5 separate regions of the Homo sapiens genome follow, and regions 2, 3, 4 and 5 are each linked to region 1. Evidence: promoter capture Hi-C in 16 types of primary human blood cells and fetal thymus (Javierre and others, 2016). All regions are on one chromosome and are shown on one strand. Each heading gives the region's core, a stretch centred on a gene start or on the middle of the fragment in contact. The rest is flanking DNA. Distances are from core to core; before and after follow the strand shown.

Region 1 (5,148 bases), core at 819-3,318:
AAATACAAAATTAGCCGGGCGTGGTGGCACATGCTTGTAATCCCAGCTACGCTGGAGGCTGAGGCAGGAGAATCGCTTGAACGCGGGAGGCGAAACTCCCTCTCAAAACAAAAAACAAACAAAAAACAACCAAAACTGAAAGCTGGTAATGAAACAAATACGTATACACGAACATTTGTAGCAACACTGTTCACTACAGCCAAAAGGTGAAAAGAAGCCAAATGTGCGTCAATGTATGAATGGAGAAACAAATTGTAGTATAAACATAAAATATTCATCTATGAAAAGGAATGAAGTACTGATACGTGGTATGATGTGAATAACATTAAAAATATTATGCTAAGCAAAGGGAGTTAGAAACAAAATGTTCCATTCATTTTTATGATTTGTCCAAAATAGGTAATAGAAAAGAGAGAAAGATTCATGTTTCCCCAGGAATGGGATTATGGACAACAGTAGTGATTGCTTAGTGGGCATGGGGTTTTCTTTGGGTGATAAAAATGTTTTGTAATTCAAGAGGTGGTGGTTTCACAATGAAGCAGCTACTTTGTCTGAGGTTTAAACCCGGGGTTCGTCGTTAAGCGCCAGAAAAATTTAGGACACGGACACACAAAAACTCCTCAGTTTAGGAGCGGAGGTTTAATAGGAAGAAGAGAAAGAGAAACGGGTTCCTCCATAGAGGAAGGGGTCTCCGAGCGGAAAAGGGTCGGCTGGCAGTGAATGTGCTGAGTTTTACAGACCAGTTTGAGGAGGCAGTGTCTGATTTACATAGGGGTCATAGATTGGTTCGATCAGTTATGACGTTTACATAGTGCGTGGGGAAGGCTGGTCGCCCCACCCTAATCTTCTTATGCAAATAGGCTTCCCAGTTGATTGGCCCATCTTGCCAGCTTCTTACTGTGCACGTGGCTGACAAAGAGAAGGGAAGATGGAGCCGCCATCTTTAACATGATTGGCACAACTGCTGGTATCTATGTCTGCGGCAGCTGGATTTTACAGGCTGCTCTTCCTTAGGAAGGGAAATAATTTGGGGCTGCTTTTCATTAAAAAGAAAAGCCTTACCGAGGGCTCCCATACCCTATCTGCCTAAGTGATGGCTTCTTAACTCGTATATATTAACAACACTGTATTCGTACTAGATGCCATTGCCATTGAATTATGTGCCTTAAAATAATTTTGTTTTGTGAATTACACCTCAAAAATATTTTTTAAATAATAAAACGACCACGTTAAAAACGTTTTGCATAGCGAAAAACAAGTCAAAGGAAAAAAGCTTTTTGGTTGAGCAATATTTGATACAATGTTAATATGAGTATGTAAATAATACTTAACGGAGGGGAAAAAACTAAACACTCAATAGAAATGTGGGCAAACTATTTGACCAATTCACAAAGACTATAATAGTGGCAACGGAAAATATGCACGGATGTTCCACTTTATTTACAAAAGAACAAATACAAATTAAAACTACATTTAGAAACCATTTCTTACCATTAGATTAGCAAAACTTAACTCCTCGAAGACTGTGTCTTCTCGCTTGTTCCCTTTCCAATAACACTCCTGTTATCATTGGAGGCGTTTAGACTTCAGAAATTCCTGTCTATTCAGTATTTTCTGTCCTGGACCAGGGAGAGAGAAGGACGACTCTCAGGATAACAGTTCACATTCCCCACTAGGCAGGCGCTCGTGGCTTTGGGATTCGTTCCCAGTGGGCACCTCGGAGTGGCAACGCTTCCCCCTGAAGAATGAGATTTTGAGCGTTTTTCCTTCAGCATTCGGAGGAGTGTAATCCAAATGCTCTGTGGAGTCGTACACACTGGCTCCAGAAGGAGGATACAAGCAATTCTGGGAATGGTAGTCCAGACGCTCAGTGGAGTAGCGGTCAGCTTGGCTCCGGCAGGCGAATCAGGGGATTTCTGGGAAATGTAGTCCAGACGCTCAGTGGAGTCTCGGTCAATTTGACTCCGGCAGGTGGATCCCAGGGAATTCTGGGAAGTGTAGTCCAGACGCTCGGGGTCGTCGCGGTCAGTTTGTCTCAGGAATTCTGGGAAGTGGAGTCCAGACACTCAGTGGAGTAGCGGGCCACTTCCGCTCCGTTACTGTGAGGTTGCTGCAGTTTTGTCCCTGGTAGTTTGGGTCAGTTCCGCGAGACCCTTCTGAATTTCCTGGACCTACGCATTGGATCCTTAACGAACTGGTGATCGAATTAGGGGAAAAGAAACCTCGTCGGAGAGCAGAGGTTTGGCGGAGCGGGGCCGCTGTTTTCGTTCTCGTCAGTGGAGCCTTCTTGGGCTTGGGGCTCTCCTCGCGTCCCCGGGGTGTTTGGGACTTGGTCGGGTCGCGTCTCGCCTGGTTTTAGGGTCTCCGGGGCTCTGAGCTCGCCCACTCGGCCTCCCTGCACCCCACGCGCGTGGCCACTTCCTCGCGATAAAACGCTGGGATGTTACTTAATCTCCTTGGGTCTCCCGTTACAGTTCTTTAAGATGGGGAGTTTAGGACCATCCTAATAGAATCGTTTTGGGAACTGAAAGCGGTAACACAAATGAGAGCCTTAAAGCAGCCCCTGTCACTTGGTGACTGGTGGTCTCTTGTTAATTTCCCACGAAGCCTGTCAGGTCCCCGGGTGGGGTGAAACTCCAGCTGCAGGGGCACCGGCCCTTCTCCCTGATTCCTGCAAGACGCTGGGTGATCCCGGACGCCTTCTGACCTCTCTTTTAGGAAGGCGAGGGTTGCATCCACTTCCAGGAGGGGAGAGGAGCATTTAACTTTTATGGGGCACGGCGACCACGGTCAGAGTGTTTCACAGCCTTCTCCTTACCCAGCCCGACCTTTCCAAAAGAGCTGCAGGGAGGGACTTCTTGGCTTCTGAGGGCAAAGCTCTACGTGAGTGATCCTTGGCTTTTTTCTTTGACAGAGATGCTCACCCCAACCGAGAGTGTATAGGATGTGTCTTCGGGCATGGGTGTTGCTTTCAGTTGTCATGTTTTTCTAGTCTTTAATCTTGAAAGATAGCATAGCTTTCATCGTTTTTTCTTGGTATTTTATCCTTGTTATTTTTGAAGAGTATAGATGAAGTTATTTTGGTCAAAGATGTTCATTTGGAGTTTTTCTGATGTATTTCACGTTTAACTTCAAAATATGCATTTTTTGCTGGAATACCACAGAAGTGGTAAATCTCTCTCTCTCTTTTTTTTTCTTGAGACGGAGTTTCGCTCTTGTCGCCCAGGCTGTAGTGCATGGCACGATCTCAGCTCATTGCAACATCCACCTCCTGGGTTCAAGCTATTCTCCTGCCTCAGCCTCCCAAGTAGCTGGGATTACAGGTGCCTGCCACCACATCCGGCTAATTTTTGTATTTTTAGTAGAGAAGGGATTTCACCATGTTGGCCAGGCTGGTCTCAGACTCCTGACCTCAGGTGATTCAACCGCCTTGGCCTCCCAAAGTGTGGGATTACAGGCATGAGCCACCGTGCCCAGCCTGAAGTGGTAAATTTCTTATTGCAACATAACAGGGGCCATATGTCAGTTTGTCACTTCATTGGTGATCTCAACTTTGTTCACTTGGCTAAAGTCATGTTTGTCAGATTTCCGCATTGTAAAATTATTTTGAATTTTTTTTTTTACCCCAGGAACACAGATTCAAGTTGCTCTCAATATACACTCCCTAATTTTTTAGTTAAATAAAATTTTGTAAGGAGAAATACATTTATTAGTGCACATTCTACTGTAAAGGTGAACTCTCCCTTCTCCTTCATTTGCTTATTCATTCATTCAACTATAAATATTCTATCAGTGTAGATCCAGAATCCAGTCTTATTAAGTTAAATGACATGTGGATGAACAATTACCAATGCTTTGTCCAACTTTATTGAGGTGTATTCTACATATCATAGAAACTACCCATTTCGTGTGTACACTTTAATGATTTTTAGGAACTTTGTGGAGTGGAATAAACATCACCATAATTCAGTTTAAATAATTTTCATCCCCCATTAAGCCTCCTTGTGCTCACTTATAGTTAATCCTCTTTGTCACCTCAAATATGCAGAGACCACCTATCTACTTTCTCGTTATATACACTTGCCTACTCTGGAATTTCATAGATATAGGATCATGCAATATGTGGGCCTTCCTATGTGACTGGCTTCTTTCACTTAGCATAATGTTTCCAAAGTTCATGCGTGTTGTAGCATGAATCAGTACTTCATTCCTTTTAATTTCCAAATAAGATTCCATTGTATGGATAGGCCACAATTTGTCTATCCATGTACGCATAGGAGGGAGTTTGTTGGTGTGCAGTTTTGGGTTACTATGAATGATGCTGTTGGGAACATTCATGTGTTAATTTACAATACACATTCGTGTTGGTGGATGGCATCCCTGGCCACACTTTCATGTCTCTTTTTCTGCCTTCCCTGGTACTTTCCAGGCAGGATTCTGCTTTCCCTTGGACTGTATCACTCAGGACTCTGAATATTCCCTGAAATAGGAGGAAAAATGACCACGTTGAAGGTGAGTAGAGCTTGCCTCTCTTGCTGTTAAAATTTCTTTTATGGAGACTTGTTCTGTCGCCAAGGCTGGAGTGCAGTGGCCTGATTTTGGCTCATTGCAACCTCCACCTCCGGAGTTCAAGTGATTCTCCTGCTTCAGCCTCCCAAGTAGCTGGGACTACAGGCACACACCACCACACCCAGAAAATTTTTGTATTTTTAGTAGAGACGGGGTTTCATCATCTTGGCCAGGCTGTTCTCAAACTCCTGACCTCAGGTGATCTGCCTGCCTTAGCCTCCCAAAGTGCTGGAATTGCAGATGTGAGCCACCGTGCCCGGCCGTATTTCTTCTCACTACTCATATTCTCACAGGTTCTTCTCAGTCTTGGGAAGACTTAGGGAGTACAACAGAGATATAGCATGGGACAAACAGAATCTAGCTCTTCCCGTGTGAACACCTCCAATAATCCTTGTGTGAAGCAGCAGTTAAGCAGTTATAGCCTGTTGTGTTGTGCCAACACGAGAGCCAGCGTCCACAGGTGGCACTGCTCCTCCCAGGCACCATTTTGGGGTGATCTTCTTTCTTCCTGACATGACACCTACTCAGATGCACCCAGTGCTCCAGGCACCCAAGGACAGTGATAACCATAGTCATGAT
Region 2 (5,431 bases), core at 2,488-4,987, about 13 Mb after region 1:
ATCTGAAATGTTAAATAAGAACTCTGACTCCAAATTCTTTCCAGGAAGAAGTTAGAAAGAGAGGTTTGGGCTTAATAGGCTGTCCCCATTGTATGCCTTCCAGAAGAAGAAAATTAACTTGTCTCATAATGGAACTGTCTAGATTCATTGGGCAGTCCTGAGCTTTTACATGGAGGAAAAACACAACCCAAATGGAGAGGGAGAAGGGTATTCACTCAGCATGAAATATCCCCTCTATACAGTGCCATGAATGTCTGTCATTAGGGACAAAAAGCTCTCACTAGGTGAAAGTTTAGACAGAAATCCTCTAATTGTTCTAATTAGATCAAACCTCTATAGTAAACAGTTCAAAAATTATAGTGTCAGGGAATCATCTTCATGGTTGCTGGACTTGTCATCAACATCCCCAGGATCTAGAGTTCCATCTTCTGGCCTATCTGGAAAACCTCACAGACATCTACCCAGTACTTCTAACTAACCATAGCAATCCCAAAGTACCAAAACCCCTACTTATTCAGTGGAACTCTCCTTCACTTAATGGATTCCACCTGAATGTCCCCTTCCACACTTGCCATTATACCTGGACTTGAAAAGTTGAGTATATCTCCAGTGCATTAATGATTCTTTTGCACTCACTACTATGTTAATGACACAAAAGCAGACGTTTCCCTGTGATGCTCTGATCTAACTATAGTTACCAAGTTTCCAAGGCAACAGCAAGGTAAATGGTATTTCACTTGTAGGCAAGAAGACCATATATGATGTCTTCTCCCAGACCAGAACACACGGGAAAAAATGACTGCCTAATCTGGGAGGGTGGGAGTACTATTCGCTTCTGGAAAACAAGGTTTGTTTGACCACCCCCATTGGAACAGGGGAAGAATATCTCTATAGACCCAACTTGGCAGCAAAGGATAGACATTACACCCTGTAGGACCTCTATGCTCCAACTGGACTCATTTTTGTTTGTGGCCATGAATGAGAAGTCACATGCTGTAACTACTCCTGGCTCCCCAGGGAGCCATCTGTTCTTTTAGGAGTAGCTTTCCCTTATATATCAAAAACTTGGAACAAAGATAAATGTATGTTGACCACCCTTGCCCCTCCAAGGGTCACAGTCTATAACCCAATAAGGCCCAGGAACACCAGAAGTCAACAAGCAATAGGATTAATTCTGGTGGGAATCAGGGCAGCCATAGGACAAGCAGCACCCTAGGGTGGCTTTGCCTACCACAAGTCAACCCTAAAGAACTTGACTCAAACTCTAGAATCCTTAGCCACCAACACAGGTTAGGCACTACCAGCAATTCAAGAATCTCTAGACTCTTTGGCAAATGCAGTTCTCAATAACACACTGGCATTAGATTATCTACTAGCGGAACAAGGTAAAGTCTGTGCAGTTAATAAAACCTGCTGCACATATATTAGCAACTCTGGATAGGTTAACATTCAAAAGATCTATAAGCAAGTGACCCTGTTATGTATATTTTCTTTGGCTCTTGCTTGTTTAACCTCTTAGTAAAGTTTGTGTTTTCTAGATCAATAGTCCCCAACCTTTTTGGCATCAGGGACCAGTTTCATGGAAGACAATTTTTCTATGGATGGGGTATGTGGGGCTGGGGCTGGGGGCTGGTCTCAGGATGAAACTCTTCCACCTCAGATCATCAGGTACTAGATTTTCATAAGGAGTGTGCAACCCCAGTCCCTTGCATGCACAGTTTATGATAAGGTTAGCACCCCTATGAGAATCTAATGCTGCCACTGATCTGGCAGGAGGTGGAGCTCAGGCAGTAATGCTCACTCACCTGCCACTCACCTCCTACTGTGCAGCCCAGTTCCTAACAGGACATGGACCAGTATCCACAGGAGAGGGGTTGGGGTATCCTGTTCTAGTTCCAGGTAAAGACAATGCTGGCACAAGGCTTCCAACCCATCCTTGTCTACTATTCCAGAGAATGGAAGTGTCCTTCCTTTGGGGACCTTATATGTGGTATCCAGGGATGTTTACTCCTTTAGTGCTAGGCAGGGCCTAGGCCCACAAAATCAGCAGCAAGCAGTCACAGAGCCCCCTTAAGATTAAAGAGGAGTATCTAATCTCTGATGGGAGAGTGAGATAGGAGGCAGGACTCCATACCAGACTGAAGACTGGCTGAAACAGGGAACAGGCACCAAGAGCATATCTACATAATACACACCCACCAGTGCCATGGCAGTTTACCATCACCATGACAACACCCGGAAATTACCATCCCTTTTCTAGAAATTTCCAAATAACCCACCCTTTGCATGTAGTTAAAAGCGGGTATAAATATGATTGCAGAGCTGCCCCCTGAGCTGATACTCGACACACTGCCTATGGGGTTGCCCTGCTCTGTAGGAGCAGCCACAGAGTTGTAACCCTGCTGCCTCAACAAAGCTATTTTCCATCTACCACTAGCTTGCTCTTGAATTCTTTCCTGAGTGAAGCCAAGAACCTTCTTGGACTAAGCCCCAATTTTGGGGCTCACCTGCCCTACAACGCCACCTGATGTCCTACCTCTGTGCTTTCTAAAACCATCTCCCTTACCACTGGAAGAATATAACTTAGGCCTCAGGAAATGAGGATAATTCATGCTGACATAAGGAGCTCTTTAAAAAATAAAAAAGCAGCTGGGCGCAGTGGCTCATGCGTGTAATCCCAGCACTTTGGGAGGCCGAGGCAGCTGGATCACCTGAGGTCAGGAGTTTGAGACAAGCCTGGCCAACGTGGTGAAACCTCATCTCTACTAAAAATACAAAAATTAGCCGGGTGTGGTGGCACACGCCTATAATCCCAGCTACTCAGGAGACTGAGGCAGGAGAATCGTTTGAACCTGGGAGGTGGAGTTTGTAGTGAGCCAAGATCATGCCACTGCACTCCAGCCTGGGCGAGAGTGAGACTCCATCAAAAAAAAAAAGAGGCAGCATTATATAATAAGATACCTGGGGGATATTGATGGACATGCTACCTTGGAGTCCTGCCTAGCTCAGCCCCTTCTTCGAGAATAATCCACTACCCACAGTCCTGTTAACCAATCTCTGGGGATACCTGACCCAACCAGGCTAGATCAAGTTTTCTTGCCTGAATTCTGGAATAAGGACCTCAGACAGAGGGCAGAGTGTGCTGGGCACTAGGGTGAGGATTTGTGTTTAAAGGGCTGTTTCTACCCCAGTGATCCCCAGTGCAGACACAGGGAGACCAGGCAAAAGCATGTGAGACCAAAACAGAGAATACAACAGGACCTGTGGGTAGAGGGAGAAGGGCTTGAGATGCCTTTCTCACCAGGCAGTATGTGCAAGAGGATGGAATCAGAGGACTAGGGTCACCCACATGGGACAGAAATAAAGCTTTACCCAGCAAGACCAAGAGCCCACAGTTCTGCAGCCTCACATCTTGGTGCAGTGTCCTCTGGGCCAGGCCCAAATATCCACATTTCTACCAGATGAAGGTCAGGGCCATGACCTTGAAAGGCACCAATGCCTGGCAAGTCAAACAGAAAGTTGACCTCAGACTGTTAGATATTAGAACCTATTGCTTGGTCACTGGGAAAGGCACAGAGAACCAGGACATCTGAGGGTTGAGCTCCATGTAGGGCACAAGGGTGAGGGACACTGCCTCTGAAAATAGGGTAACTGTGGCAGAGGATAAAGCCTATGATGGGGGATGTCATTTCCAAGTTAAGGTTTCTGCTACCCAGGCTCCTTCTGATTCTCTACCTCCCACATGTCCTCCTGCACTCACATTAAATCATCCCAAGTAATCCTCCAGGTTGCTTGCCTGGCTCCATGCTCTGACAATCATGCTGCAGAATGGAGCTGTTCCCTCTAAGCCAGGCTATGCCTACACTGTCACACCTTGTACAAGGAGATTGTGTGTGTTGTAAAAATAGACACAGCCAGTTACTAGATGTGTAGATGCACTTTTACCACAGGCACATTTGTTTTGCTATTACCTCCTCCACTTTCTATTAATCATACCCAAAATTTCTGTACCAATTATGTCCCATGCTTAGCTCCCATCAGCTTGAGTACCACCATCTATGGAATCATGGGCATCAGGGCACATAGGTTCCTTTGCAGAAGCTGGGAAAAAGCTTCGTCTCAACAGTGCTGGGCATTACAGCCTGTAGAACAATGCAATAAATCCATCTTATTCCCTAAAGCACAGGAGCCTGTCATAACAGCCGACTTGTCCTCAGGATGACCTCTGGTCCAGAGAAAGTGTAGGGATCCAGGCCATAAATTAGGACAACAAAATTCTTGCATTGTTTCCTAGGAGGCCTTGAGCAGCAAGGCAAAGTGGACTAAAACCAGAACAAGAACTACTGTCATTTTACTTTTCCTGCACAGGCCAGCAACATTGGGGCCCCACAAAAGCTGTCCATGCCTTTATGTAGGAGCCCAAATGTGTTTTCCAGCCACCTCACACAGTAAACCAAACCCTAAGACCACACATAGATTTAAAAATAAGGCCTTTATTACCACACAAACCAGAGCAATGTGAGGCAGCCAGTTACTAGGTGGTGACTTGGAGGCTGGAAAAACTACCAAGTGTTGTGTGAAAACAAGAATTTCCATGAAGGGAAGCCTTCCACATCAGCTTCCAGCAGAACCCAGGCTGGGCCCTTCTGGCCAAAACTGGTCAGATGTATGCTGTAATCAGTCAGAAAAGGGAAGGAATTCCCCTTAAAGGCTCAGACTGCTCAAGGAATTTCCTCCAAGGGTTGGGAGAACACAGGTGTATCTGCCTCGCCTTAGTATGCAAGGGTGACTAATGATTTAACTCTGGCAAAGGCCTCCAGCAGTTTAGAACATGCAAAGGAGCTCCTGCAAGACACATATGCCTGGAACTAATGGGAGTCTGACCCATCGGGAGGTCTAGAAGTATGAGGTTTAACTTTAGGCAGACGGCTCCTTCACAAAGGCTCTCTATAGCCATAACACTGAAGAAAGACATGGCACATTCCCTGCAGGTCTAAGGCTTTTCTCAGGTTTGGAGTTTCAAGAGTTAAACAATGTTAGATCTTGGGCTGTAGGGTTTTCCACATTTGCTGCTGTCACGAGGCCTCTCCACAGTGTGAGATTTTCGGTGGAGAATGAGGCCAGAGTGTTGTGTAAAGGACTTCCCACATTTGCCACACTCATATGGCCTTTCTCCTGTGTGAACCACTTGGTGTTGAATGAGGCTAGACTTTTGGATAAAGGATTTCCCGCACTGTCCACAGTCGTAAGGCCTTAATCCAGTGTGAATTTTCTGGTGTTCAACGAGGGTATAGCTTTGTCTAAAAAATTTCCCACATTCACTGCACTCAAAAGGCCTTTCTCCAGTGTGAGTTCTCTGGTGCCTAACAAGTTTAGATTTGAACATAAAAGCTTTCCCACATTCCCCACATACATAAGGCCTTTCTGCAGT
Region 3 (5,379 bases), core at 248-2,747, about 13 Mb after region 1:
ATCCATTTATGGTGTATAATTTGAAGAGTTTGTCATACAAGCCTGTGAAACCATAATCATGATCATGAACATATTCATGATTCACCTCTTGCTGTTTTACAATCTCTGCGTGTACTTTCCAGGCCTTCAGGAGTCCTGTCATTTACTTTCCCTACAGGAGAATAGTTTGTGTTTTCTAGGATTTTATGTGAATTGAAACGTAAAATACTTACTCCATTTTTCCTGATGATGCACAATTTTTTTTTTTTTTTTGAGATGGAGTCTCAGTCTGTCACCAGGCTGGAGTGCAGTGGCATGATCTTGGCTCACTCCAACCTCCTCCTGGGTTCCAGCGATTCTCCTGCCTCAGCCTCCTGAGAAGCTAGGACTACAGGCATGCACTACCACGCCCAACTAATTTTTGTATTTTTAGTAGAGATGTGGTTTTACCATGTTTGCCAGGATGGTCTTGATCTCTTGACCTCGTGATCCGCCCGCCTCAGCCTCCCGAAGTGCTGGGATTACAGGCGTAAGCCACCACACCAGCTGATGCACAATTACTTTTAAGATTTATCAATATTGCTTATGTGAATAGTTCATTTGTATTGCTGAGAAATAGTCTGTGGATATGTCACAATTTGGATAAACAGTTGGATGCTTTCCAGTTTTGGGCTGTTGCAAATAATGCTACTATGAACATAGGCATATAACTCTTAATATGCAGAAATGCTTTATTTCTCCTGTGTCAGTAGTACAGTGTACGTGAATGCGTCACTTTTAAAGACAAGGCCAGACTATAACCTAACTGTACCATTTGCATTCTCATCAACAGTATGTGAACCTTCTTATTTCTCTACATTCTTGCCATACTTGGTATGGTTAGTCTTTTTAATTTTAGTTGTTTTAATAGCTGTATAATAGCATCTGTCTGTGATTTTATTGCATTTTTCTGGTATTTTATGGTATTGAACATTTGAACATCTTGTATCTAGTTGCCACCTGTATATCCTCTTTGGAAGAATGTTTATTAATGTCTTTTGCTTATTTTTAAATGGATGTTGGTGATACTTTTTCATTAATAAATAGACGTATAACAAAGACTTATGTTGAAACTTTACTCATTCTTCAGTAATGTGATGCACTTATTTGCTAAATGATAAAATTGTTTTCAAATACTGGGAAAATAATTTCTCAGTTTTTTGGTCTATTCACAGTGTAACAACTACAGACACTATATACCTGAAACACTACCTTCATTGACAAATTCTCCATCACTTTCTTAGGTCTAACCATTCAATGAAACAAATAAGCCCTGGTTTTTAATATTTGCCAATTTCCCTGGTAAAATACTCCCACCATGGCCAATTACAAGGTGTCAAAATAATGTCACTGAACATGAATTGAGAAGAAGTGGGTAGCGTCACACCACTGTATTCTACTTTCACCATGCCAATACAGTAGCCGCAGATAACCTGAAGATCATGTATGTAGGAACCATACAGCCTGTGGTGTGGCAAGACTGATGCCATCTTGAAGTGAAGCTGTCATGGTCACCTATGTTCTGAAGCAGTAGCATAGATATCATCAAAATGCTTCTCTCCCCCAATGGTCATGAGTCTTGGCAAGAAAGTCTGAAGACGTGAAGAGCTGCACGTTTTACCCTAAAAACTCCAGGCCGGGCGTGTTGGCTCTTGCCTGTAATCCCAACACTTTGGGAGGCCAAGGTGGGCAGATCACGAGGTCAGGAGATGGAGACCATCCTGGCTAACATGGTGAAACCCCATCTCTACTAAAAATAGAAAAATTAGCCGGTTGTGGTGGCTTACGGGTGCCTGTAATCCCAGCTACTTGGGAGGCTGAGGCAGGAGAATCACTTGAATCCAGGAGGTGGAGGTTGCAGTGAGCCGAGATCACGCCATTGCACTCCAGCCTGGCAACAGAGCAAGACTCCGTCTAGAAAAACAAACAAACAAAAAACTCCAGCCTTGTTGACCACTACAAAAAGGGTCCTATAAAGGATGTAAAGGAAACTGCCTTCTGGAGGGCAGATACAGGGATCCATTGTCTCACAGCTGCACAAGACATCACTTCTGTTCATGAGTCCCTATGAAATGTTTCTGAAAACAATTTGGCCTCTTCCTCCTTCTTTGGCCTTTCAGCTTCGTTGGCCTTTGGGATAGATTTTCATACACCTGCTCACTATAGAACAATGTATATATAAGAGTAAAACAGTAAAATGATTAAGAATTGACTTTTGAGTATTTATTACTTGTGTTTTTAAAAGTGGCTTAAGTGAAATCTAGTTGTCTTAAATTCTGCATATTTAAAGTATACAATTTCTATTTTAATATATACTCGAAACCATAAGTTTCCACCTGCCCTTTTTAGTCCATCCCTCTTAACAAGTAATGGGTACAAAAACTTATTTTTCCTCTTCTAATGGATATTTTCAAGTATATACACAAATGGAAAGGACTGTGTTCAGATGCACTATGAAACCTTTCTAAATCTTCCATTATTACTTATCATTTAGTAGCCATTCTTGTTTCAACTCTTTTCACACATAATTATTTTACTTACAATTCCCACATCTTGTCATTCAATGCTGCACCTCTTCAGAATGCATTTTCAAGCATAAGAGCTCTTTCATAATTCCTATAACTTTATCAATCATTATTTAAGGCATCATAAAATATATCATCAGTGCTCAGTCACCTCGAATTGTCTCCAAAATTGATTTTTAAGACAAATTCATTGCAATCAGATCCAAAATGAATCTATATGGCTATTAGTAGTTTCATCTGGTGAGTCTATAATAATACACAGCTACCACTTTTTATTATTATTCTTGAAGTTGATGAGACATTTGTCCAGAATTTGCCACATTCTGGAATGGTGCGTGTTTTTGTTTTGTGTCTCTCTGATGTCATTTAACATGCTGACCCTTTCTCCATATTCCTGTGCACTAGATATTAAGGAAATGGGTAACTGAACTCTGGTCCTGCAGATAGGTGTGCAATAGTAACACACTTATGCAGTGTGACTGTGTTGTGTGTATGTGTATGTCTATTCAAAAGGTGACATTCACAGACATCTGGAGGCTTAGAGATTATTGAAAAAGTAAAAAAGGAAGAAGCACTTTGTTTTTGCTTCCTCTAAGATACCTGAGAAGGTTTCTCAACTGATTTGAAATGTGAAACAATGCCAAAACAATTACCATAGATCCAGTAATACTGCTTCTTGGTTTTACTGAAATGAGTTAAACATTTATGTCCACACAAAATCTTGTACATGAATATTTATAGCACCTTTGTTCATAATTGGCAAAATTTGGTAGCAACCAAAATGTCCTTCAGTAAGTGAACAGGTAAGTGTGGTACATTTAGAAAATGGTATATTTATCCACATTAAAATAAATAATAAAAGATATGGAAGAACTTAAATACATATTTCTAAGTGAAAGGATCTGATATGGTTTGGCTGTGTCCCCACTCAAATCTCATCTTGAATTATAAGTACCACATGTCATGGGAGGAACCCAGTGGGAGGTGATTGAATTATAGGAGTGGGTTTTTCCCACGCTGTTCTCATGACAGTAAATTAGTCTCACGAGATCTGATGGCTTTAAAATCGGGAGTTTAGCTGCACAAGCTTATTCTCTTTGCCTGCTGCCATCCACCTAGGACGTGACTTGCTCCTCCTTGCCTTCTGCAATAATTGTGAGGCTTCCCCAGCCACGTGGAATTGTGAGTTCTCCATTAAACCGCTTTCCTTTGTAAATTGCCCAGTCTCGGGTATGTCTTTATCAGCAGCGCGAAAACGGACTATTACAGGATCCAAACTAAAAGGACTACATACTGTGATTTGAACTATATGACATTCCAGAAAAAGCAAAACTATGGAGACAGTAAAAAATGAGTGGTTGCCAGGGGTTTGGGGGAAGGGAGGAAGGGATGAACAGGTGGAGCACGGAGGACTTTTAGGGCAGTGAAACTACTCTGTGATACTACCGTGGTGTGTATACAAGTCACTATGCCTTTGTCAAAACCCATATAACAACCAGCTAGAGTAAATCCTAATGTAAACTATGGATTTGGGATGATAATGATATGCCAGCGTACCATCAATTGTAACAAATATACTATTCTAGTGGGGAATATTTATAGTGGAGTGGCTGTACATGCATGGGACAAGGGATATGTGGAAGCTCTATAATTTTTTGCTCAATTTTCCTATGAACCAAAACTGCTCTAAAAAATAATCTATTAAAACTTTACCAGCCTGAGCAACATGGCGAGACCCCGTGCCTACAAAAAATCAAAAAATTATCAGGGCATGGTGGTGCAGGTGCATGTCTGTTACCAGCTATTCTGGAGGCTGAGGTGGGAGTATTGCTTGAGCCCAGGAATTCAAAGCTACAGTGAGCTCTGATTGTGCCACTGCACTCCAGCCTGGATGACAGAGTGAGACCCTGTCTCTAAAAAAATTAAAATTAACTAATTTGCAAATTAGTTTAAAATATGTATTTTGCAATGTTTGTGCTGTGTATTTGTATAACTCAAGGGAGATTAATTTTAACAAATTGAATTTGGCAAGCCAGTTATTTCCATGAGCAGCCTAGTTAATTTATCTACTTAAACAACAAAAACAAGTAGATACACAGATTTTCTGGCACTTTCCAAGCTCACTATTTCCCTACTTTGACTATTGGCCTAAGAAATTGCCATAAGAGCTGTGTGTACCTGTAGCCCCAGCTACTTGGGAGGCTGAGGCGGAAGGATCACTTGAGACCAGGAGTTTTAAACCAGCCTGGGCAACATAGCAAGAACCCTGTCTGTAAAAAAAAAATATATATATATTTTAAAAATTAGCTGGGCACAGTAGTGAGTGCCTGCAATCCCATATACTCAGGAAGCTGACACAGAAATGTCGCTGAAGCCGAAGAGTTTGAGGCTGCAGTAATCTATGATCCTGCCACTGCACTCCAGCCTGGGCAACAGAGCAAGACTCTTCCTCAAAAAAAAAAAATTACCATTAGACACTCAAATATGCAGGCAAAATGAGTCCTTTGTGGAGTCACTCAGAAGGGCTCCCCACTTACCTTTCTATATGAAATCATGCTGGAGCCACACCTTCTCCCTTTCCTTTTCAGACAGGACTTAAATTCAGCAACTGAAGAGCTATCTGCTCTATGTGTCTTCAGGGTAAACATTTCCAGAGCCAAGCCAAATGTACTTATAGACTTATATATGACTGCACTAAAAAAAGCAAAGTAAGTCTATGTTCAGTTCAATTAATTATGTTCAATATTCTTTTTTTTTTTCTCTCTACTGAGATGGAGTCTCACTCTGTCACCAGGCAGGAGTGCAGTGGTGTGATCTCGGCTCACTGCAACCTCCA
Region 4 (5,136 bases), core at 1,011-3,510, about 14 Mb after region 1:
ACCTGCACACCCGGCCTCCTAAAGTCCGCGCCAAGCTCCCCAACCACAGCCTGCCTCTGAAAGGACCGCCCACGCCGCGCTGGAGGTCAGCGGGCACGGGTCCCTGTCTGAGTGGGCTTTATGTTTGTGCGGCCGTCATTGCATACCTGAGGCTGGGTGATGTCAGAAAATTGTAGGTGCCCCGGCTCTGCAGTCTGAAGTTGAAGGCCTTAGCATGCTCTGCGCTCCAAGATGGCGCATCGAGTGCCGCTTCCTCAGACGTCATGGAGGCCAAGGGGGCGGAACTCGCCTTTTTATGATGACATTAACCCCACCCATAAGCCACCAGAAGAAACCAGCCTCCTGTAGGAATGTCAGAAAACCCGTACAAGGGGACTGGTGCGATGGCTTGTAGCTGTAATCCCAGCTATGGGGGAGGATTGCTTGAGCCCAGGAGTTGGAGGCTGCAGTGAGCCATGATGTGCCACTGCACTCCAGCCTGAATGACAGTGGAACCCTGTCTCTAAAAAATTAAAAAACAAACCCAGATTTGGCCGGGCGCGGTGGCTCGCACCTGTAATCCCAGCACTTTGGGAGGCCGAGGTGGGCGGATCACGAGGTCAGGAGATCGAGACCATCCTGGCGAACACGGTGAAACCCCGTCTCTACTAAAAATACAAAAAAAAATTAGCCGGGGGGGTGGCGGGCGCCTGTAGTCCCAGCTACTCGAGAGGCTGAGGCAGGAGAATGGCGTGAACCCAGGAGGCGGAGCTTGCAGTGAGCCAAGATCATGCCACTGCACTCTAGCCTGGGCGACAAAGCGAGACTCCGTCTCGGGGGAAAAAAAAAACCACCCAGATTCAGTCTTTAGACTTCTGCTACTAGCTTTATAACTTTGTTTATCCCCTAGGCTGAAGTGCAGTGATGCAATCATGGCTCACTGTGCTTCAAACTTACGTGCTCAAGTGATCCTCCCACCTCAGCCTGTTAAGCAGCTGGGACCACGGGCATGCGACACCATGCTGGGCTGGTCCACTCCTTTATTGCTGGCTCCCTCCATTTCTTATTTCAAGAGACAAATTATTGGAAACGGGCATGATGCCTTAGATTCTAAGATCCTCCACCTCATCAGCAGGGCACCCATCCAGGCCCCACAGAAAAACCTGACCCAAAACCCCAGACCAAAGGGAACTCCATCCGACCCAGCCTGGCTGGCATTTACCAGCTACCCCACCAGCAGCCAGTGCCAGGGTTGGCTTGGCTGAGGACACTCGTGTGATGTTTCAGGAGCAAGTGACGTTTGAGGACGTGGTAGTGGGCTTCAGCCAGGAGGAGTGGGGGCAGCTGAAGCCTGCCCAGAGGACCCTGTACCGTGATGTAATGCTGGACACCTTCAGGCTTCTGGTCTCTGTGGGTAAGGCCACACCCATGTCCTATCTGTTGATCTGTCCCTGACACGGATTCTGATTCTACCAGGTTAAATATTTATAGGACTGAGCTTTAAAAGCAAATGCCTGGGGCTGTATGTCTTGGGCTTTAAGAACCTGACTGTTTTAATGTAGGAAATATCAATTAAGACCAATATTAGCAAGTCTCAGACTCAACCTGAAATCAACAGAAGCAGAGAAACATGAGGTGAGGGAAACATACTGGGTCTGAAGACTACAGAATCCCAGGGTAGACCAGGGTGTTCTGTAGAGCTGTTAGGAGCCCCTCCTTCTTCAACACCTCCCTCTGCACTTCTGTCTTAGTCTGTTAGGGCTGCTAAAATACCTTAGACTGGGTAATTTTAAACAATAGATATTTGTTGCTCATGGTTCTGGAGGCTGGGAAGCCTAAGATCAAGGTGTCAGCAAATTCAGTGTTTGGTGAGGGCTTGCTCCTCACTGATGGCACTTTCTTCCTGTGTCCTGACATGCCATAAGGGCAAGGGAGTTATCTCAAGCTTCTTTTATAAGGGCACTGATCCCATTCATGAGTGGAGCCCTCATGAATTAATCACTTCCCCAAGGCCCCACCTCAACACTATCAGATTAGGTATTACATTCTAACATTTGAACCTTATTTATTTATTTATTTATTTATTTGTTTTTAAATTTTTTATTTTTGAGACAGAGTCTCGCTGTGTCACCCGGGCTGGAGTGCAGTGGTGCGATCTCGGCTCACTGCAAGCTCTGCCTCCCGGGTTCACACCATTCTCCTGCCTCATCTTCCTGAGTAGCTGGGACTACAGGTGCCCACCACCACGCCTGGCTAATTTTTTTTTTTTTTTGTATATTTAGTAGAGACGGGGTTTCACCGTGTTAGCCAGGATGGTCTCGATCTCCTGACCTCGTGATGCACCCACCTTAGCCTCCCAAAGTGCTGGGATTACAGGCGTGAGCCACTGCGTCCGGCCTGAACCTTTTTTATTTTTAAGAAACAGGGTCTTGTTCTCTTGCCCAGGGTGGAGTGCTGTGGCACAGTCATACTTACTGCACACTTAACCTCCTGGCTCAAGTAAACCTTCCATTTCAGTCTTCCAAGTAGCTGGGACTACAGGTGCATACCACCACACCTAGCTAATTTTTAAAATTTTTGTAGAGACGGGTCCTTGCTGTGTTGCCCAGGCTGCCCTCAAGCTTCTAGGCTAAAGTGATCCTCCCACCTCAGCCTCCCAAAGTGCTGGAATTACAGGCATAAGCCACTATGCATAGCCTGAATTTTAGGGGGACACCAACATTCAGACCATAGCAATCTCTTTCTGGCTTCATTTCCAGAGAGGCTCCTCTGGAGGTGACAAGACAACTGCCTGGGGTGCCTTTCCTGCAACCAAGACCAGCAGAAAAGACAGGATCTGTGTCCCAGGGTTGTCCTGGTTTGGCTGCCAGGTCTTCTTCACAGTGATCATTGATGCCAGTGGGCAGGGGAGGAACCAGAGTTCTGATTGTCCAGGCTTGGGTCACATGTCCACCCCAGAACCAGTGGTAGGGTCAGGGACTGAGAGTAGGGGAATGAGTCCCTGAGGAACATCCAGGGCTGTGGGTATGACAGCTGAAGTCACTCAGGGGTCCCCAGCCATCTGGGACCTGGAAGACCAAAGGTGGAATGGGCTGAGGCTCAGGAAGGGTCCTGGGATACAAATGCTCACTCTATGGGTCTCTCCCTGAGCAGGACATTGGTTACCGAAGCCGAATGTCATCTCCCTGCTGGAGCAAGAGGCAGAGCTGTGGGCGGTGGAGTCTAGACTTCCCCAAGGCGTGTACCCAGGTGAGATGGGAGCCCTTCGGGGCAGAGAGAAGCCTGTCCATGCTTGCTTCCTGGTTTCTCCCTCTGCATCTGCTCTCTAATTCTTCAGAGCAAATTTACTACTCAGTCTTAGTGAAGATTTACCAAGCACCCATTTTGCTGTGAGTGACGACACCACGTCCTCATCTCCACTGAATTTATATTCTTGGTGAGGGAGTGGGGGAAACAAACAATAAATCGGTAAAATAATAATAATAAAACAAGTTGGATGATTACAGATTGTGATGAATGCCGAGAAAATGAAAATGAGCAATGAGGTAGACTAGGAGGGGGATGAGTAGACTTTAGCAGAGAGATGAGGGATAGCCTCTCCAAGGAGGTGACATGTGACTTGAAGCCTGAGCCATGAGGCAGTCTGAGTGAACAGTAGTATTTCAGGCAGAGGAAACAGCAGGTGCAAAGGCCTGAAGTCATGCATCAGTCAGCTTTTGTGTAGGAAAACACTCTGACCTCAGTGGCTTAAACCAAATAATTGTTTATAATTCATGTGTCTGTGGGTCAGTGGATCCAGGCTGGGCCCTACGCCATGTGCCTGTAGGGTGATTGGTAGGTAGCAGAGGTATCCCAGCCCACTGACAGGCAATTTCCCATTGGCATCAGGTGGGAAGAGTGGCCTGTCACCAGAGTCCAGGAGGGATGGCCAGTGTGGGAAAGGGTCACAGTAGGGTCCCTCCACATCAATAACAGCCCTTACCCAATATATTAGCTTCCTATTGCTCCTCCTGCAACCAGTTACAAATGACCCGTGAATAACATGGGTTTGAACTGTGTGGGTCCATTTATACATGGATTTTCTTCTGCCTGAGCCACCCCTGAGACAGCAAGACCAACCCCTCCTCCTACTCCTCAGCCTACTCACTGTGAAGACAATGAGGATGAAGATCTTTATGGTGGTCCACTTCCATTTAATGCATAGTAAATATATTTTCTCTTCCTTATGATTTTTTTAAATAGCTTTTTCTTTAGCTTACTTTAAGAACACATTATATAATACATATACAAAATATGTGTTAATTAAGGGCTGGGAGCAGTGGCTCACACCTATAATCCCAGCACTTTGAGAGGCTATGGCAGGTGGTATTTGAGGTCGGGAGTTCAAGACCAGCCTGGCCAACATGGTGAAACCCCGTCTCTACAAAAAAAAAATACAAAAAAAAAAAATTAGCTGGCCATGGTGGCACGCTCCTGTAGTCCCAGCTACTCAGGAGGCTGAGGCAGGAGAACTGCTTGAACTAGGAGGTGGAGGTTGTGATGAGCCAAGATCACGCCACTGTGCTCCTGCCTGGGTGACAGAGCAAGACCATGTTTCAAAAAAAACAAAGTGTTAACTATTTATTTTATCAGTATGGTCAACAATAAGCTATTAATAGTTAAGTTTTTGGGGAGTCAAAGGCTATACACAGATTTTCGATTGTACTGGGGTCAGTGCCCCTAGCCCCCTCATTGTTCAAGCGTCAACAATACTACACTTCGTAGCATAAAGCAAAGCAAATTATTTTAAAGTTCGGGAGATCAGAAATCCACAATGGGTCTAGCTGGAATATAATAAAGATGTCAGCAGGGCATCATTCCTTCTGGAGGCTCTAGGGAAGGGAAGAATCTATTTCTTTCTCTCCTTTTTGTTTTTTTAAGAGATGGGGTCTTGCTATCTTGCCTAGGATGGAGTCCAGTGGTATGATCATGGCTCACAGCAACCTTGACCTTCTGGGCTCAGGTGATCCTCCTGCCTCAGCCTCCTGAGTAGCTGAGACTACAGGTGTGTGTCACCATGCCCAGCTAATTTTTTTTTATTTTTTGTAGAAACAAGGTCTCATCATTTTGCCCAGGCATGTCTTGAACTCTTAGGCTCAAGGAGTCCTCCCACCTCAG
Region 5 (4,983 bases), core at 162-2,661, about 14 Mb after region 1:
ATATGTTAGCTTCAGTAATCATCAGAGAGTTCACAGTGGAAAAAGACCTTATGAATGTGGAGAATGTGAGAAATCTTTTAGTCAAAAGAGCAGCCTCATTCAACATCAGCAATTTCACACTGGAGGAAAACCTTATGGGTGTGAAGAATGTGGGAAATATTTTAGCTTAGAAGGATATCTTAGGCGCCATCAAAAAGTTCACGCTGGAAAAGGGCCTTATGAGTGTGGAGAATGTGGGAAATCTTTTAGTTCAAACGTGAACCTTAAGAGTCATCAGCGCATTCACACTGGAGAGAGACCTTACAAGTGTGGAGAATGTGAGAAATCTTTTAGTCGGAAGCCCAGCCTTAGTTACCATCAGCGCATTCACACTGAAGTAAGACCTTACAAGTGTGGAGAATGTGGGAAATCTTATATTTCAAAGGGGCACCTTAGGATCCATCAGCGCATGCACACTGGAGAAAGACCTTACAAGTGTGGAGACTGTGGGAAATCTTTTAATGAAAAAGGACACCTTAGGAGTCATCAGCGAGTTCACACTACAGAAAGACCTTATAAGTGTGGGGAATGTGGGAAATGTTTTAGTCACAAGGGTAACCTCATTCTACACCAGCATGGCCATACTAGAAAAAGGCCTTATATGTGTTGGGAATGTGGAAAATTATTTAAGAAGAAGTCTCACCTCCTTGTACACCAGAGAATTCACAGTGGAGAGAAGCCATATGCTTGTGAGGCTTGTCAGAAATTTTTTAGGCACAAGTGCCACCTCACTGCACACCAGAGAGTTCACACTGGAGAAAGGCCATATGAATGCAGTGATTGTGGGAAGTCATTTACCCACAGCTGTGCATTCATTGTTCATAAGAGAGTTCACACTGGTCAGAAGCCTTATGAGTGCAGTGAATGTGGGAAATCTTTTGCTGCAAGCTCCTATCTCACTAGTCACAGGAGAGTTCACACTGGTCAGAAGCCTTATGAGTGCAGTGAATGTGGGAAATCTTTTGCTGGAATCTCCAGTCTCACTAATCACAGGAGAGTTCACACTGGAGAAAAGCCTTATGGGTGTAGTGAATGTGAAAAAAAATTTAGGAAAAGCTCTTCACTTCGTTACCATCAGAGAGTTCATGAAAGAAAGGCCTTATGAGTGCAGAGAATGAGTCCAGTCTCATTAAATACAGGAGAGCACACACCTGAGTAAGATCTTGTGATTGCAGCAAATGTGGAAAATGTTTACCCAAAAGAAGTCTGCTCTCCTTGGACATTGGAGAGTTCACACCAGAGAAAAGTCCTTACAAGTAAAATAAATTTGGCAGTTTTGTAGCCACACCTCTGTATTCCTTCAGGATTATATTTAACACTGAATGAAGGCCTTACTAGTGTGGCAAATATAGGCTATTTATCCAGAAGTCTGGCTTCAAAACTCACAGGAGAGCTGTCACTACGGAAATGCCTTTTGAATGTAATGTTTGCAAAAAAGCACTGTGCCTTCTGTCATTGAATCCTAGAACACTGAGATGAGAAAAACACTGTAGATGTATAGGTTAGATATATAGGGAATGTTATTATTTTTTCCTTTTTTTGGAGAGACGGTCTCACTCCATCACCCATGCTGGTGTGCAGTGCTGCGATCGTAGCTCACTGCATCCTCCGCCCCCTAGGCTCAAGTGATCTTCCCACCTTAGCCTCCATGTAGCTGGGTCCACAGGCATGCACCACCATGCCTGGCTATTTTCTCATATTAGTAGATATAGGGTTTTACCATGTTTCCAGGCTGGTATCGAACTCCTGAGCTCAAGCAATCTGTACACCTCAGCCTCCCAAAGTGCTGAGATTGTAGGTTTGAGTCACTGTGCTCAGCCAATTATGTTTTTCTGTGTAACATGGGAGGAGATCCTTTGAGGGCACCATGTGCCCAAATTGAAAAAACTCCAGGCATGTGGCATCTGTATTATATTTTTTACTATGCCCTGTTATCTTGCTAGACTTATGTGACTGCCACTTATCTGGCAAAAGCCATTACATCTCAGCTACTTGGTAGGTACCCACATTGCATCATTCACCTATTTCGTATTCTAGAAGTATATTTTGGTTGTCTCCCATTCACGAGAGATTTTTTTTTTAAGTTTTTTGTTTGGTTGGTTGGTTGGTTGGTTGGTTGTTTTTTTTTGTTTTTTTTTTTTTTTTTTTTGGAGACAAAGTTTCACTGTCACCGATACTGGAGTGCAGTGGTGTGATCCTGGTTCATTGCAACCTCTGCCTCCTGAGTTCAAGCAATTCTCCTTTCTCAGCCTCCTGAGTAGCTGGGATTACAGGTGCCTGCCACCACACCCAGGTAATTTTTGTACTTTTAGTAGAGATGGGGTTTCACTATGTTGGTCAAACTGATCTTGAACTCCTAACCTCGTGATCCACCTGCCTTGGCCTCCCAAAGTGCTGGGATTACAGTGTGAGCCTCTGCTTCTGGCCTTTTTAAAAATTTTTTAAATTTATATTTTTTGTAGAGACAGGGTCTTGCTGTGTTGCACAGTCTGGTCTCAAACTGCTGGTCTCGAGTGATCCTTCTGCCTGGCTTCCCAGAATGTTGGGATTATAGGCGTGGCATAAGTCACCATGCTGGGACTTTTTTATTTCTTTAATTTTTAATTCCAGATCTGGTCACAGAAGGATTTGTTGAGTAGCCTCAGCACTTCTTGCTTTTTCATTTCTTTCTGATAAGTTACACCATGGACCTTCCCCATTTTTGTCCCAGAGGACTCTTGTGCTGACTTGAAAAGATGGACTATTTTGGCTAAGCATGGTGGCTCATGCCTGTAATCCCAACACTTTGGGAGGCCGAGGTGGGTGGATCACAAGGACAGGAAGGAGTTCAAGACCAGCCTGGGCAATATAGTGAAATCCTGTCTCTTCTAAAAATATAAAAATTAGCCGGGCATGGTGGCGCACCTGTAGCCGCAGCTACTCAGGAGGCTGAGGCAGGAAAATTGCTTGAACCCCGGGAGGTAGAGGTTGCAGTGAGCTGAGATCATGCCACTGCACTCCAGCCTGGGTCCTGCTACCTTGAAGGACAGCATAGCTAAACTGCGTGGCCCAAGGGACAGCATGAATGCAGAATATAGCTTTCTTCACTTGTGGCCTATTTGCATAGCTGCCCAAGGCCTCCAGTGGACGACTTCATGGCTTTGTGGTCTTCATCTGTAGCATGGATACTACAGATTGTGGGTTCATAGGTCAGCTGGGTACAGGGCAGTTTTTATAACAACCTCTGGTGGGTTTTTTATTTTAGTGTCAATATCACACTGAAAGATTGGTGATTTTTTTTGAACCAGACAAAATTCTCTCTTATGAGGTATATTGCACTGTGCTCGGTACTGTTGAGGGAACTCTGTTCAGCAGATCTTACAAGGCACACATGTGCCATGATATCCAGAATTCTGTAAGGCAACATCACAGGTTGTAAGGCTATAGGATGAAATTATAATTTTATGGTTACTTAGTTACTGCATTTATAGTCAGCAGAGGGGACAGCAATAAAGTTTTTGAAATATATCTTTTTTTTTTTTTTGAGACACAGTCTCACTCTGTCACCCAGGCTAGAGTGCTGTTGCACCATCTCGGCTCACTGCAACCTGTGCCTTCTGGGTTCAAGCGATTCTCCCACCTCAGTCACCCAAGTAGCTAGAATTACAGGTGCATGCCACCACACCACTAATGTTTTGTGGTTTTAGTAGAGACGGGTTTCACCGTGTTGCACAGACTGGTCTTGAATTCAACTCTTGAGCTCAGGTGATCTGCTCACCTCCGCCTTCCAAAGTGCTGGGACTACAGGTGTGGGCCGCTGTGTTTGGCTGAAATGTATGTCTTTTAAAGGAGTGTCCACAGTTATCCAGTCACTGTGTCTGTGATGGATAAGCAGATACAGAAATTCTCAAGACTTCCATAATAATGAATGTTGTGTAGCTAAGCTTTGGTCAGAGGAAATAATCTAAAGGTTTTGTGAATTCATGTAACCTTTTGGGCTGCTCACCTTAAGGTAACTCCTGTATTAACAGGAGGAACAGAATAGGGAAAAAGATCTCAGTTCAGTGATGTAGCTTTGTGACCAGCCAGTGATCCAGTTCAATCAGGTAGAAATGACCTTCCTGCTACATCAATATTTGCTTCTATGGAGGCTAGTTTCCCCACTTAGGGCATGAGAAGAATTGGTAAAGTCAACATAAAATTGCCAAACCTGTCACCAAAAATGATGGCAAATCTGTATTTTTCTCTTAAACCGTGTTATAAAAGCTGTAATAAGGTATAGGCTGAGCATCATGGCTCATGCCTGTATTCCCAGCACTTTGGGAGGCCAGATTCCTTGAGACCAGTGTGGGGAACATGGCAAAACCTTGTCTCTAGGAAAAATAGCCAGGTATGGTGGCATGTACCTTAGTCTTAGTGATGTGGGAGGATTGCTTGAGCCTGGGAGGCAGAAGTTGCAGTGAGCTAAGATTGCAACGCTGCAGTCCAGCCTGGGTGATAGAGTGAGACCCCATCTTAAAAATAAAATAAAGATATAAATGACATCCAATAAAGTACACATATTTGAGCTGTAGGATAAGTCTTGAATTTTATTATAATCCCGTGAAACCATCATCAGAGTCACCATAATGAATTTATCTAATCTATCACCTTTGTATTTACTTGGAGCCTTTATAAAGTTTTTCTCTCTGCTCTTCAAACAACCATTGATTTACTTTGCTGTATGATGGAGTACTTTCCATTTTCTGGAATTTTCTGACTGATGTAATAAAGTGTTTCCTCTTATAATCCCTGGGTGCTCTCCTGCATCATGCTTATTTTGATGTCATTGTAGATATATGAGTTGTTCATTCGTTTTATGTTGCTGAGAAGTATAGTCTGCCGTGAAATGTCATTGTATATTCATTCATTCATCCATCCATTTATGGATATTTTAGTTGCTGCATACTTTTTTTTTTTTTTTTT

What was found. The method cuts DNA at HindIII sites, captures the fragments that hold promoters and counts their contacts. A CHiCAGO score of 5 or more calls a contact.
Region 2: a fragment that was not itself captured here is called in contact with the fragment with the promoter of ZNF225 in region 1 in 5 of 17 cell types (activated CD4 T cells, non-activated CD4 T cells, total CD8 T cells and 2 more); the score reaches 9.0 in activated CD4 T cells.
Region 3: a fragment that was not itself captured here is called in contact with the fragment with the promoter of ZNF225 in region 1 in 2 of 17 cell types (non-activated CD4 T cells and total CD4 T cells); the score reaches 10.5 in non-activated CD4 T cells.
Region 4: a fragment that was not itself captured here is called in contact with the fragment with the promoter of ZNF225 in region 1 in 1 of 17 cell types (total B cells); the score reaches 5.9 in total B cells.
Region 5: a contact is called between a fragment that was not itself captured here and the fragment with the promoter of ZNF225 in region 1, in 1 of 17 cell types (total CD4 T cells). The highest score is 6.2, in total CD4 T cells.

Annotation. Positions count from the first base shown.
Region 1 is chr19:44,111,331-44,116,478 of GRCh38, forward strand. ZNF225 (zinc finger protein 225) reads left to right here and starts at 2,069. Exons shown (of 5, transcript NM_013362.4): 1 at 2,069-2,239; 2 at 4,430-4,512. The coding sequence starts at 4,498. It overlaps ZNF225-AS1 (ZNF225 and ZNF224 antisense RNA 1), which reads right to left and starts at 1,853. Exons shown (of 2, transcript NR_033341.1): 1 at 1,492-1,853. RefSeq lists a silencer at 1,780-2,130 and an enhancer at 1,823-2,522. The HindIII fragment of the contact is 4,811 bases long and covers 1,272-5,148 here.
Region 2 is chr19:57,567,093-57,572,523 of GRCh38, forward strand. ZNF416 (zinc finger protein 416) reads right to left here. Exons shown (of 4, transcript NM_017879.3): 4 at 4,474-5,431. The coding sequence ends at 5,027. Among named protein-coding and RNA genes, the nearest start is that of ZNF416, 9.1 kb to the right of the region's middle. The HindIII fragment of the contact is 746 bases long and covers 3,365-4,110 here.
Region 3 is chr19:57,592,812-57,598,190 of GRCh38, forward strand. ZIK1 (zinc finger protein interacting with K protein 1) reads left to right here. Exons shown (of 4, transcript NM_001010879.4): 4 at 1-1,079. Among named protein-coding and RNA genes, the nearest start is that of ZNF530, 4.4 kb to the right of the region's middle. The HindIII fragment of the contact is 4,262 bases long and covers 1-3,628 here.
Region 4 is chr19:58,060,314-58,065,449 of GRCh38, forward strand. It overlaps ZNF135 (zinc finger protein 135), which reads left to right. Exons shown (of 5, transcript NM_001289401.2): 3 at 1,267-1,393; 4 at 3,133-3,228. Among named protein-coding and RNA genes, the nearest start is that of ZNF135, 3.6 kb to the left of the region's middle. The HindIII fragment of the contact is 676 bases long and covers 1,923-2,598 here.
Region 5 is chr19:57,841,433-57,846,415 of GRCh38, forward strand. ZNF587B (zinc finger protein 587B) reads left to right here. Exons shown (of 3, transcript NM_001376223.1): 3 at 1-4,806. The coding sequence ends at 1,144. Among named protein-coding and RNA genes, the nearest start is that of ZNF587, 5.9 kb to the right of the region's middle. The HindIII fragment of the contact is 5,098 bases long and covers 1-3,960 here.